Regions from separate parts of the Homo sapiens genome. Here all the other regions are linked to region 1. Evidence: promoter capture Hi-C in human tissues and cell types (Jung and others, 2019). All regions are on one chromosome and are shown on one strand. Each heading gives the region's core, a stretch centred on a gene start or on the middle of the fragment in contact. The rest is flanking DNA. Distances are from core to core; before and after follow the strand shown.

Region 1 (3,561 bases), core at 475-2,974:
GAGTTTGAGAACAGCCTGACCAACGTGAAGAAACCGCGTCTCTACTAAAAATACAAAATCAGCCAGGCATGGTGGCACACGCCTGTAATCCCAGCTACTCGGAGGCTGAGGCAGGGGAATCGCTTGAACCCAGGAGGCAGAGGTTAGAGGTTGCAGTGAGCCAAGACTGTGCCATTGCACTCCAGCCTGGACAACAAGAGCAAAACTCTCAAAAAAAATTTTTTTTGATTTTTTTTGTAGAGACAAGGGTCTCCCTATGTTGGCAAGGGTGGGCTCCAGTGATCCTCCCAACTTGGCCTCCCAAAGTGCTGGGATTTACAGGCATGAGAAGACTGTCCTGATTATAAGGGACAAGGCTTTGTTGTAGCTAACACAAGTGTAACCTTAGAAATTGCTTTAACGTTGCCATTTTTTACAGAAAGAACACAGCCCCAGCTAAGCTTAGAAGGTTGAATATATCTCCCTTGTGATAGAAAACGTTTGGTTTCAGCTGGGCACGGTGGCTCACGTCTGTAATCTTAGCACTTCCAGGCTGGGACAGGTAAATCACCGGAGGTCAGGAATTCGAAACCAGCCTGGCCAACATGGTGAAACCCCGTCTCTACTAAAATACAAAAATTTAGCTGGGTGTGGCGTGCGCCTGTAATCCCAGCTACTGGGAAGGCTGAGGCAGAATTGCTTGAGCCCAGGAGGCGGAGGTTGCAGTGAGCCGAGATCCCGCCACTGCACTCCAGCCTGAGTGACAAAGCGAGACTCCATCTCAAAAGAAAAAAAAAGTTTGCTTTTATTTTGACAAATAAGGTCATGCATTGATCAACAAATGCGGGAGTACCTTTCATGAAACATGCACTGTTTTAGGTACTAGCCAGGACAGTGGTGAGCAACAAAGTCCTTGCTCTTTTGAAGTTTACATTCTTATTGGACAGGAACTGGCAGAAAATATCAAGTAGTGATAAATACTATGATTAAAAACAAAACTAGGTGAGAGACTGCAGTAGAAGGGACCTTAGGTTGAATGGCTTGGGGAGGCCTGTCAATAGAGGTTACATTTATGCTGAAATGTTCTGAATGTGGAAGATGTGTTAAGAAGGTACAGTTGTCTTTTAGGAGACTTTACCAAAATACCTATTCAACCCCTCTTCTCACCTCAAACTCTTTGCTCCTCTCCTTCTCTTGATCTTGGATCATACTTCCCTGAGAAAACAGACAGGAGCTCTCTACCATCTCCACCCCTTACTTACCCCGTCTCTCTGACTGTTACAATGGATATTATTTGACTTCAAATTTCGGGTCAACACCCTTACTATGGATCCACACTGTAAGACGGTCCATGCTACCAAGGAAATGGCACCACCCCAGAGCCTGTAAGCGAACAGCACAATAAGAAAAGCGAAGAAAAGAGGCAGGAACTGGGTTCCAAGGGAGCTGGAGGCAGCTGGACCAAGAAGGCAAAGAGCAATGCCACAGAGCGAGAACGGCTGCAACGGCCTGCTACGCTAAGCTAGGCCTTCAAGCATGCCAGAGCAGTTAAGCAGAGTGGGACTGGCGTCAGGGCAGATGTGGCTTTGCTAGAGAGGCTGGTACTGCCCCCCACAGGAAACGAATGGAATCGACCGGAGACAGCCGAGAGGTCTCCGCGGGAGTCACGAGGCCGAGCGGGAGCCGCTACGTACACCGCGCATGCCCACGACGCAGTCAGGTTCCGGCGAAAGTGACCGGAAGTAACCGCCGGGCCAAGATGGCTGCAGAGGAAGGGGTCGCGAGTGCTGCTTCCGCCGGCGGTAGCTGGGGCACCGCGGCCATGGGGCGGGTTCTACCGATGCTGTTGGTGCCAGTCCCCGCCGAGGCGATGGGGCAGCTCGGCTCCCGGGCGCAGCTGCGCACACAGCCGGAGGCTCTGGGGAGCCTGACGGCTGCGGGCAGCCTCCAAGTGCTTTCTTTGACGCCTGGCAGCCGGGGCGGGGGTCGCTGCTGCCTGGAGGGCCCCTTCTGGCAGTAAGTGCTGAGGGAGAGTTGGGCCGTTGGGGGAGTCCAGAGCCTAGGCTCGGCTGACTGAGCCCCAAGGGCTCACGCCGAGGCCTCCCTGCAGCCATAGAGGTGGCGGGAGAAGGGTGCCAGCTGCAGGAAACGCCCCAGAGGCGAGCGTGGTTTCCTCACAGAACCTTTCCCCCGACCTGAAACGCTCGCCTCGTTGCATTCTGGCAGCCCAGCTCTCCTGTTCCGGGTGGGCGGAGACGGCACCCAGCTCCATTGCCACCTGCGGCGAACCCGGAACGGGTCTCAGCTGAGGCGCTGATTCTTTCATTATTCAACACAGGTTGATTAACTGTCACAGGGTCGAGTCCCATGCCCATTTCTTTCAGTTAAAGATGCCAGCTGAGGATCATCTCTAATTTGAATCATCCTGATACTTTTTTCATGTCCTTGAAGTGAATAGCGTTTTCTTTCACATGTAGTCCTCTTCTTCAAGGACAGAGTCCAGTTTGTCCCTTCATTTATTCAGCAAATATTGTGTGCTTGCTGTTACATAGGAGCAGTGCCTAAAAAGTTGAGTAAGACACTTCTTTCTTGCGAGGCGCGCATGTTTGGGGAAGACAAACATGATTACAATAATGCATTACTTTGTACTTCCGTAACTCTTGGTTCAGTACTTAAGAGTTTACATCATAAAGTTTGGGAACGCCCTCTTAGTGTTTTGAGTGGGCTGCTGCTTTTTTTTTTTTTTTTTTTTTTTTAAAGATAAGGTCGCTGTCGCCCAGGCTGGAGTGTAGTGGCTCAGTCACGGTTCACGGCAGCCAGCCTTGACCTCCCGGGCTCAGCCTCCCCAGCAGCTACGACTACAGGCGTGCACCACCAGGCCTGGCTAATTTTTCTAGTTTTTGTAGAGATGAGGTCTCACTGTGTTGCCTAGGCTAGTCTCAAGCTCCTGGGCTCAAGTGATCCCGCCTCTCCCTGCCAAAGTGTTGGGATTACAGGTGTGAGCCACTGAGCCTGACCTGTTCTTTTAATAATTATTAATAGTAAGTATTTTCACAACTCTTTCTTTAAGATGAGTAGCCAAAAGGTGTCTTATTAATCTTGGAATCTCCAGCTCCTCTAACAGCTCCTGACATTTAGAGATTCATTTGATACATCAGTGAATGCTTAACTCTTCTGGGTTTGTCTTCTCTACCCTTGATGTCTAGTTGCTCGAAAGAGGAATCTCTGCGTTTAGTTTATAAACTTATTATAAACTAAGTTATTTATAAACTAGTTTAGGGGAAATTAGTTTATTTAGCAGTATCAAGTACCTATGAATGTGGCTCTGTAAAGAGAGGAATGGGGCAAAGAAAAGCCGAAATCTTTAGGTGTTTGAGAACCCAGCAGGGAAGGTAAGACCGAGATGAAATAAAGGGGGCGTTCATATGCTAGTTCATGAAATTAGAGGGGAGGAGGACCAAGAAAGGACTTTTTAACTTTTTTAGTTGAATTGAATTTTAATTCAGTTAAAATACTTCATAGGTTAAAAATAAGGGCATGTTTATAGTATTTAGAGTTTACTTCCTACTTTTTCAAAGTACA
Region 2 (3,561 bases), core at 342-2,841, 230 kb before region 1:
AGCCAAACTAAGCTTCCTAAGTGAAGGAGAAATAAAATCCTTTACAGACAAGCAAATGCTTTTGTCACCCCCAGGCCTGCCTTACAAGAGCTCCTGAAGGAAACACTAAACATGGAAAGCAACAACCAGTACCAGCCACTGCAAAATATGCCAAATTTTAAAGACCATTGATGCTAGGAAGAAACTGCATCAATTAATGGGCAAAATAACCAGCTAACATCATAATGACAGGATCAAATTCACACATAACAATTTAACCTTAAATGTAAATGGGATAAATACCCCAATTAAAAGACAGATACTGACAAATAGGATAATGAGTCAAGACCCATCAGTGTACTGTATTCAGGAGACCCATCTCACGTGCAGAGACACACATTGGCTCAAAATAAAGGGATGGAGGAAGATCTACCAAGCAAATGGAAAGCAAAAAGAAAAGCAGGGGTTGTATTCCTAGTCTCTGATAAAACAGACTTTGAACCAACAAAGATCAAAAGAGACAAAGAAGGCCATTACATAATGGTAAAGGGATCAATTCAACAAGAAGAGCTAACTATCCTAAATATATATGCACCCAATACAGGGGCACCCAGATTCATAAAGCAAATCCTTAGAGACCTACAAAGAGACTTAGACTCTCACACAATAATGGGAGATTATAACACCCCACTGTCAATATTAGACAGATCAATGAGACAGAAGGCTAACAAGGATATCCAGGACTTGAACTCACCTCTGCACCTAGTGGACCTAATAGACATCTACAGAACTCTCCACCCCAAATCAACATTATACACATTCTTCTCAGCACCACATCGCACTTCTTCCAAAATTGACCACATAGTTGGAAGTAAAACACTCCTCAGCAAATGTAAAAGAACAGAAATCACAACAAACTGTCTCTCAGACCACAGTGCAAACAAACTAGAAATCAGGATTAAGAAACTCACTCAAAACCACACAAATACATGGAAACTGAACAACCTGTTCCTGAATGAATACTGGGTAAATAACGAAATGAAGGCAGAAATAAAGATGTTCTTTGAAACCAATGAGAACAAAGACACAACGTACCAGAATCTCCGGGACACATTTAAAGCAGTGTGTAGAAGGAAATTTATAGCACTAAATGCCCACAAGAGAAAGCAGGAAAGATCTAAAATCAACACCCTATCATGACAATTGAAAGAACTAGAGAAGCAACAGAAAACATATTCAAAAGCTAGCATACGGCAAGAAATAACTAAGATCAAAGCAGAACTGAAGGAGATAGAGATACAACAAACCCTTCAAAAAAACAGTGAATCCAGGAGCTGGTTTTTTGAAAAGATCAATAAAATTGATAGATTGCTAGCAAGACTAATAAAAGAAAGAGAGAAGAATCAAATAAATGCAATAAAAAACGATAAAGGGGATATCACCACAGATCCCACAGAAATACAAACTACCACCAGAGAATACTATAAACACTTCTATGGAAATAAACTAGAAAATCTAGAAGAAATGGATAATTCCCTGGACACACACACCCTCCCAAGACTAAACCAGGAAGAAGATGAATCTCTGAATAGAACAATAATATGTTCTGAAATTGAGGCAATAATTAATAGCCTATCAACCAAAAAAAAGTCCAGGACCAGACAAATTCACAGCCAAATTGTACCAGAGGTATAAAAAGGAGCTGGTACCATTCCTTCTGAAACTATTTCAAACAATAGAAAAAGAGGGAATCCTCCCTAATTTTATGAGGCCAGCATCATCCTGATACCAAAGCCTGGCAGAGACACAACAAAAAAAGAGAAATTTAGACCAATATCCCTGATGAAGATCGATGCAAAATTAGTATAGTCAAACCGAATCCAGCAGCACCTCAAAAAGCTTATACACCACAATCAACTCGGCTTCATCCCTGCAATGAAAGGCTGGTTCAACATATGCAAATCAACAAACATAATCCATCACATAAACAGAACTGATGACAAAAACCACATGATTATCTCAATCGATGCAGAAAAGGCTTTTGACAAAATTCAACAGCGCTTCATGCTGAAAACTCTCAATAAACTAGGTATTGATGGAATGTATCTCAAAATAATAACAACTAGTTATGACAAAACCATAGCCAATATCATACTGAATGGGCAAACACTGGAAGCATTCCCTTTGAAAACCGGCACAAGACAAGTATGCCCTCTTTCACCACTCCTATTCAACATAGTGTTGGAAGATGGGCCAGGGCAATCGGGCAAGAGAAAGAAATAAAGGGTATTCAATTAGGAAAAGAGGAAGTTAAATTGTCCCTGTTTGCAGATGACATGATTGTGTATTTAGAAAATCCCATCATCTCAGCCCAAAATCTCCTTAGGCTGATAAGCAACTTCAGCAAAGTCTCAGGATACAAAATCAATGTGCAAAAATCACAAGCATTCCTATACGGCAATAACAGACAAACAGAGAGCCAAATCATGAGTGAACTCCCATTCACAATTGCCACAAAGAGAATAAAATACCTAGGAATCCAACTTCACAGGGGATGTGAAGGACCTCTTCAAGGAGAACTACAAACCACTGCTCAATGAAATAAAAGAGGACACAAACAAATGGAAGAACATTCCATGCTCATGGATAGGAAGAATCAACATCGTGAAAATGGCCATACTGCCCAGGGTAATTTATAGATTCAATGCCATCCCCATCAAGTTACCAATGACTTTCTTCACAGAATTGGAGAAAACTACTTTAAAGTTCATATGGAACCTAAAAAGAGCCCGCATAGCCAAGATAATCCTAAGCCAAAAGAACAAAGCTGGAGGCATCACACTACCTGACTTCAAACTATACTACAAGGCTACAGTAACCAAAACAGCATGGTACTGGTACCAAAACAGATATATAGATAAATGGAACAGAACAGTGGCCTCAGAAATAACACCACACATCTACAACCATCTGATCTTTGACAAACCTGACAAAAACAAACAATGTGGAAAGGATTCCCTATTTAATAAACGTGCTGGGAAAACTGGCTAGCCATATGTAGAACGCTGAAACAGGATCCCTTCCTTACACCTTATAAAAAAATTAACTGAAAGTGGATTAAATACTTAAATGTAAGACCTAAAACCATAAAAACCATAGAAGAAAACCTAGGCAATACCATTCAGGACATAGCCATGGGCAAAGACTTCATGACTAAAACAACAAAAGCAATGTCAACAAAAGCCAAAATAGACAGATGGGATCTAATTAAACTAAAGAGCTTCTTCTGCATGGCAAAAGAAACTATCATCAGAGTGAACAGGCAACCTACAGAATGGGAGAAAATTTTTGCAATCTACCCATCTGACAAAGGGCTAATATCCAGAATCTACAAAGAACTTAAACAAATGTACAATACAAAAACAACCCCATCAAAAAGTGGCCAAAGGATATGAACAAACACTTCAGAAGACATTTATGCAGCCAACAGACACACGAAAAAATGCTCATCATCACTGGTCATGAGAGAAATGCAAATCAAAACCACAGTGAGATACCATCTCTGACCAGTTAGAATGGCGA
Region 3 (3,561 bases), core at 488-2,987, 160 kb before region 1:
GCTTCAGGCCACCCTTGGGAAAGCAGGGGCCTAGACCCATAAACTTGGACAGATTGCCATTTTCCAGGCCCCAGTTTCCTTATTAGTAAAATTGGTGGTCCCTTTTAGCTCTGGGACTACTGCCAGGACATGACAACAAACAGCTCCTGTAAAGGACTGGCACAGAATTCACAGGGAACTGTGGCCCAGCTACTGTGGAGCAGTGAGCCGCCATCAATGAACTTATACTGGAAGCCTTCCCTACCCCGTCCCTCCACCTCAATTCCAGGGGACACTGGGTACCGTTCACCAAACTTTTTTTTTCTCCTCCAGGTTTATCTTACAACCAAATCCAAGCAGAGGCTGCCCCACCCCAACACCCCATTTTACACAAGGAGGGAATGCCAACAGAATTCAGCAGCCTGACTCGCTCACCCCTCACCACTTCCATTGCTCAGGGCATTGTGGGGAGGGAAAATCCCACCTCAGCCCAATACACTTCCAGAGTTCCCTACTACAGGCATTCTGCAATAGTTAACCAGACCTGGGCTCACTGACATGGTTGGGATGGAAGAGGCTGGGCAAATGGCAGCTTCAGCTAACCTTGAGGCTGCCATGTTCACTCTTCCCCACTGGTCCTCAGGAAGATGAGAATCCCTGATCCCCTGTGGCACACAGCAGAGGGCCCAGGAGGAAGAAGCCAGAGGGAGGCAAAACAGAGAGCCCGGGAAACTTGCCCACCTACAGAGAGCAAAGTGCCCTCTCCTTAAGTAATCCATTCCCACTGCCACAGCAACAGATAGGCGACTCGGAAGTTGGGGAGCCTCCGTGATGGCTTCAGGGATCTTCCCAGAAAGTACAGAGCACATGTTGCTATCTTTCTCCTGGCTAGGCCCACCCAAGTTAGTCAATATCCAGGAGCCCCTTCCCCTTGTGCCTGACCTGGCAATTTCAGGAAACTAAAGTCTGGGACTCCTGATCTATCTTTTGGCCCAGTAACAATGTTATTCAGGACAAAAATATTTCTGCTTGTAATAACCTAGAATTAGTGTTTCTTACGATATATAAAGATGGGGCATATTGCTGTTGAACACTGTCAGCAATGAAACAGCAAAAGAAACAATGGGGGAGAGGGAGGAGCATAAGACCATTGAGATCTGTTTCACTGAGAAGTTTAGGGCAGGAGCCCCTGCAACTCTAAAGAAAGGCCATTCACCAAACCTTTTTTTTTTTTTTTTTTGGAGACAGGATCTCATTCTGTCGCCCAGGCTGGAGTGCAGTGGCGTGATCTCAGCTCACTGCAACCTCCACATCCCAGATCCAAGAGATTCTCCTGTCTCAGCCTCCTGAGTAGCCAGGATTACAGGCACACACCACCACGCCTGGCTAATTTTTTTGTATTTTAGTAGATACTGGGTTTCACTATGTTGCCCTGGCTGGTCTCTTGAGCTCAGGCAATCTACTCGCCTCGGCCTCCCAAAGTGCTAGAATTACAGGCAAGAGCCACCGCACCCGGCCCATTCACCAAACTTTAACAAATCACCAGGAAGAAGTAAGGGTGGTGTGTGTAGAATGTTCCTTATTGGTTCTGACCTCTCCAAGTAGGTGCAAATCCATGTGGCATAAAATGACTTGGACTGGGTACTGGCTTAGTCCATTTTGTGTTGCTATAACAGAATACTTGGGACTGAGTGATTTACAAATAAAGGGGTTTATTTAGCTCACAGTTTTGCAGGCCGGGAAGTTTAAGGGCATGGCACTGCCTTCTGGTAAGGGCTTTTGTGCTACACTATAACATTGCAGAGAAAGTCAAAGGGGAAGCAGACACATGTGAAGAGGCCAAACTCAAGGGACATCCTGGCTTTGTAACAACCCACTCTTGTGGATCTAATCCGTTCCTGAGAGAATCCAGTCTTGCTAGAGTGAGAACTCACTACCGCGAAAATGGCACCAAGCCATTTGGGAGGAATCTGTCCTTATGACCCAAACACCTCCCATTAGCCATCTGCTCCCAAAACTGCCACGTTGGGGATCAAATTTCAACATGAGTTTTGGTGGGGTCAAACTCAAACCATAGCAGGTGTTAATATGCAGATCTTAGATGCTCAGACCCCAAGAAACTTGGCAATTTGTAGAACCCTTAAGGAACTTTGCCTTCTGAGTGATTCGAAAGCATTTGTCACATTGCTGTTTCATTCTGTGGGCACATATGTGTATGTAACGCTGTGCTTATATAGCTTAACAATACTGTGTAGATTTTCGAGTGCTCTTGCATATTTGCGCTATCTGCTTTCAGGAATACCAAAGGGAATCATATCTTTTGCCACTCATCATGTGAGATGGGATAGGGCTGCCAGCGCTGACAGTATTAAGGTTTAACGATTCTCAGGAACTTCTGGGAAAACTGTTATCAGTAAGCAGAAGGAGTCCAACACATGATCTGTGAGAAGGTGAATGCGGAAAAAGCTGGGAGGCAAGGAACTAGTCATCCAGGGCAGACTGAAGAAAGTGACTCAGCTCTGGCCTTTGGGGACTGGGGCTGCTGGTTCTGGGGAGCAGCTGGGCTTTCAGCATAGCACAGGGACAGACAGGCTCTAGCCAGAGCTCTCCTGGGCCAACCCCAACTTGCCTTCCCCTGCACCACACACTAAATCCCCACACCTTGCTGAACACCCAACAAAACTAGGACCTGAGGAAGGCCCTTGCTCCTGCCATGCTGCCTTCCTCCGGAATGGGGTTCCAGAGGGAATGATGCTTCTGAAGGGAAAACAGACATTGCCAAGGTGGTTGGCTGGGAAAGTTTCTGTCATCCAGTCTGTGTCTGGCCATGGGCCTGTGGCTGACTGGAGGGACAGCTCTCCTGCATTTGGAAGAGGCACTTGTAAAGGAAGAGACCAGTGGGTTGTGTAGATGTCTTGGGCTCCCTATAGTAAGGAAGAGGTGAGTACACGTTAGGCTACTCTGCTTCCTGATGACCTCGAGCAACTCACTTGACTCCTTCAAGCTTCAGGTTCCTCATCCTTTAAGTGGGAAAAATAAAACAAGCCTCAGGCTTGTCATAGGGACAGAATAAAGAAGCCTGATGCTCTTCCCCTGGTGAATGGCACTCTGATTATGCTTATTAAGTGCTTGTGCCCCTGCCCTTGTCTCACCAAATTTTCTCTCTTGACCTGTTAAATGAGTAGGATGAATGACCCTCAAGACTTTTCCAGCTCTGAGCCCTGAGTCTGCAAAGGTGCTTGAAGGTACGTGAAGAGTTCCCAGGGTGGCAGAAAAGGCCTCAGCCTGGCCTTGACCCAGCATTCTCAGCAATTCCACAAACCTGCCAGGGAAAGAGAGATGGCAGCAGGCCCAGAGGCCAGGCAGGGAGGAGGAGAGGAACCAGGTGTCAGCACTTAGGAGCTGCCTCTTACCAGCCTGCTCTGCTCTGCTCCCCTGATGCCCCTCTGAAGAGCCGCTGGATCCAGGAGCTCTGGGCGGTTGGTTCACATGGACGGGGACCTCCAGAAGCCATGACCAAGTCTCACACCTACATTATGGAGGTGTCCCTAACTGGCTGGCACAGTGCCTGGCATGTAGAAG

What was found. The method cuts DNA at HindIII sites, captures the fragments that hold promoters and counts their contacts. A contact is called where the count stands out against the background at its distance.
Region 2: a contact is called between a fragment that was not itself captured here and the fragment with the promoter of SPG11 in region 1, in 1 of the 25 tissues and cell types used here (H1 embryonic stem cells).
Region 3: a contact is called between a fragment that was not itself captured here and the fragment with the promoter of SPG11 in region 1, in 1 of the 25 tissues and cell types used here (heart right ventricle).

Annotation. Positions count from the first base shown.
Region 1 is chr15:44,661,825-44,665,385 of GRCh38, reverse strand. It overlaps SPG11 (SPG11 vesicle trafficking associated, spatacsin), which reads left to right and starts at 1,724. Exons shown (of 40, transcript NM_025137.4): 1 at 1,724-1,995. The coding sequence starts at 1,739. RefSeq lists enhancers at 1,260-1,429, 1,470-1,949, 1,424-2,380, 2,490-2,629. The HindIII fragment of the contact is 12,399 bases long and covers 1-3,561 here.
Region 2 is chr15:44,891,231-44,894,791 of GRCh38, reverse strand. No RefSeq gene overlaps it. Among named protein-coding and RNA genes, the nearest start is that of TERB2, 64 kb to the left of the region's middle. The HindIII fragment of the contact is 4,283 bases long and covers 1-3,561 here.
Region 3 is chr15:44,819,578-44,823,138 of GRCh38, reverse strand. No RefSeq gene overlaps it. Among named protein-coding and RNA genes, the nearest start is that of TRIM69, 85 kb to the right of the region's middle. RefSeq lists a silencer at 2,734-3,028. The HindIII fragment of the contact is 6,198 bases long and covers 1-3,561 here.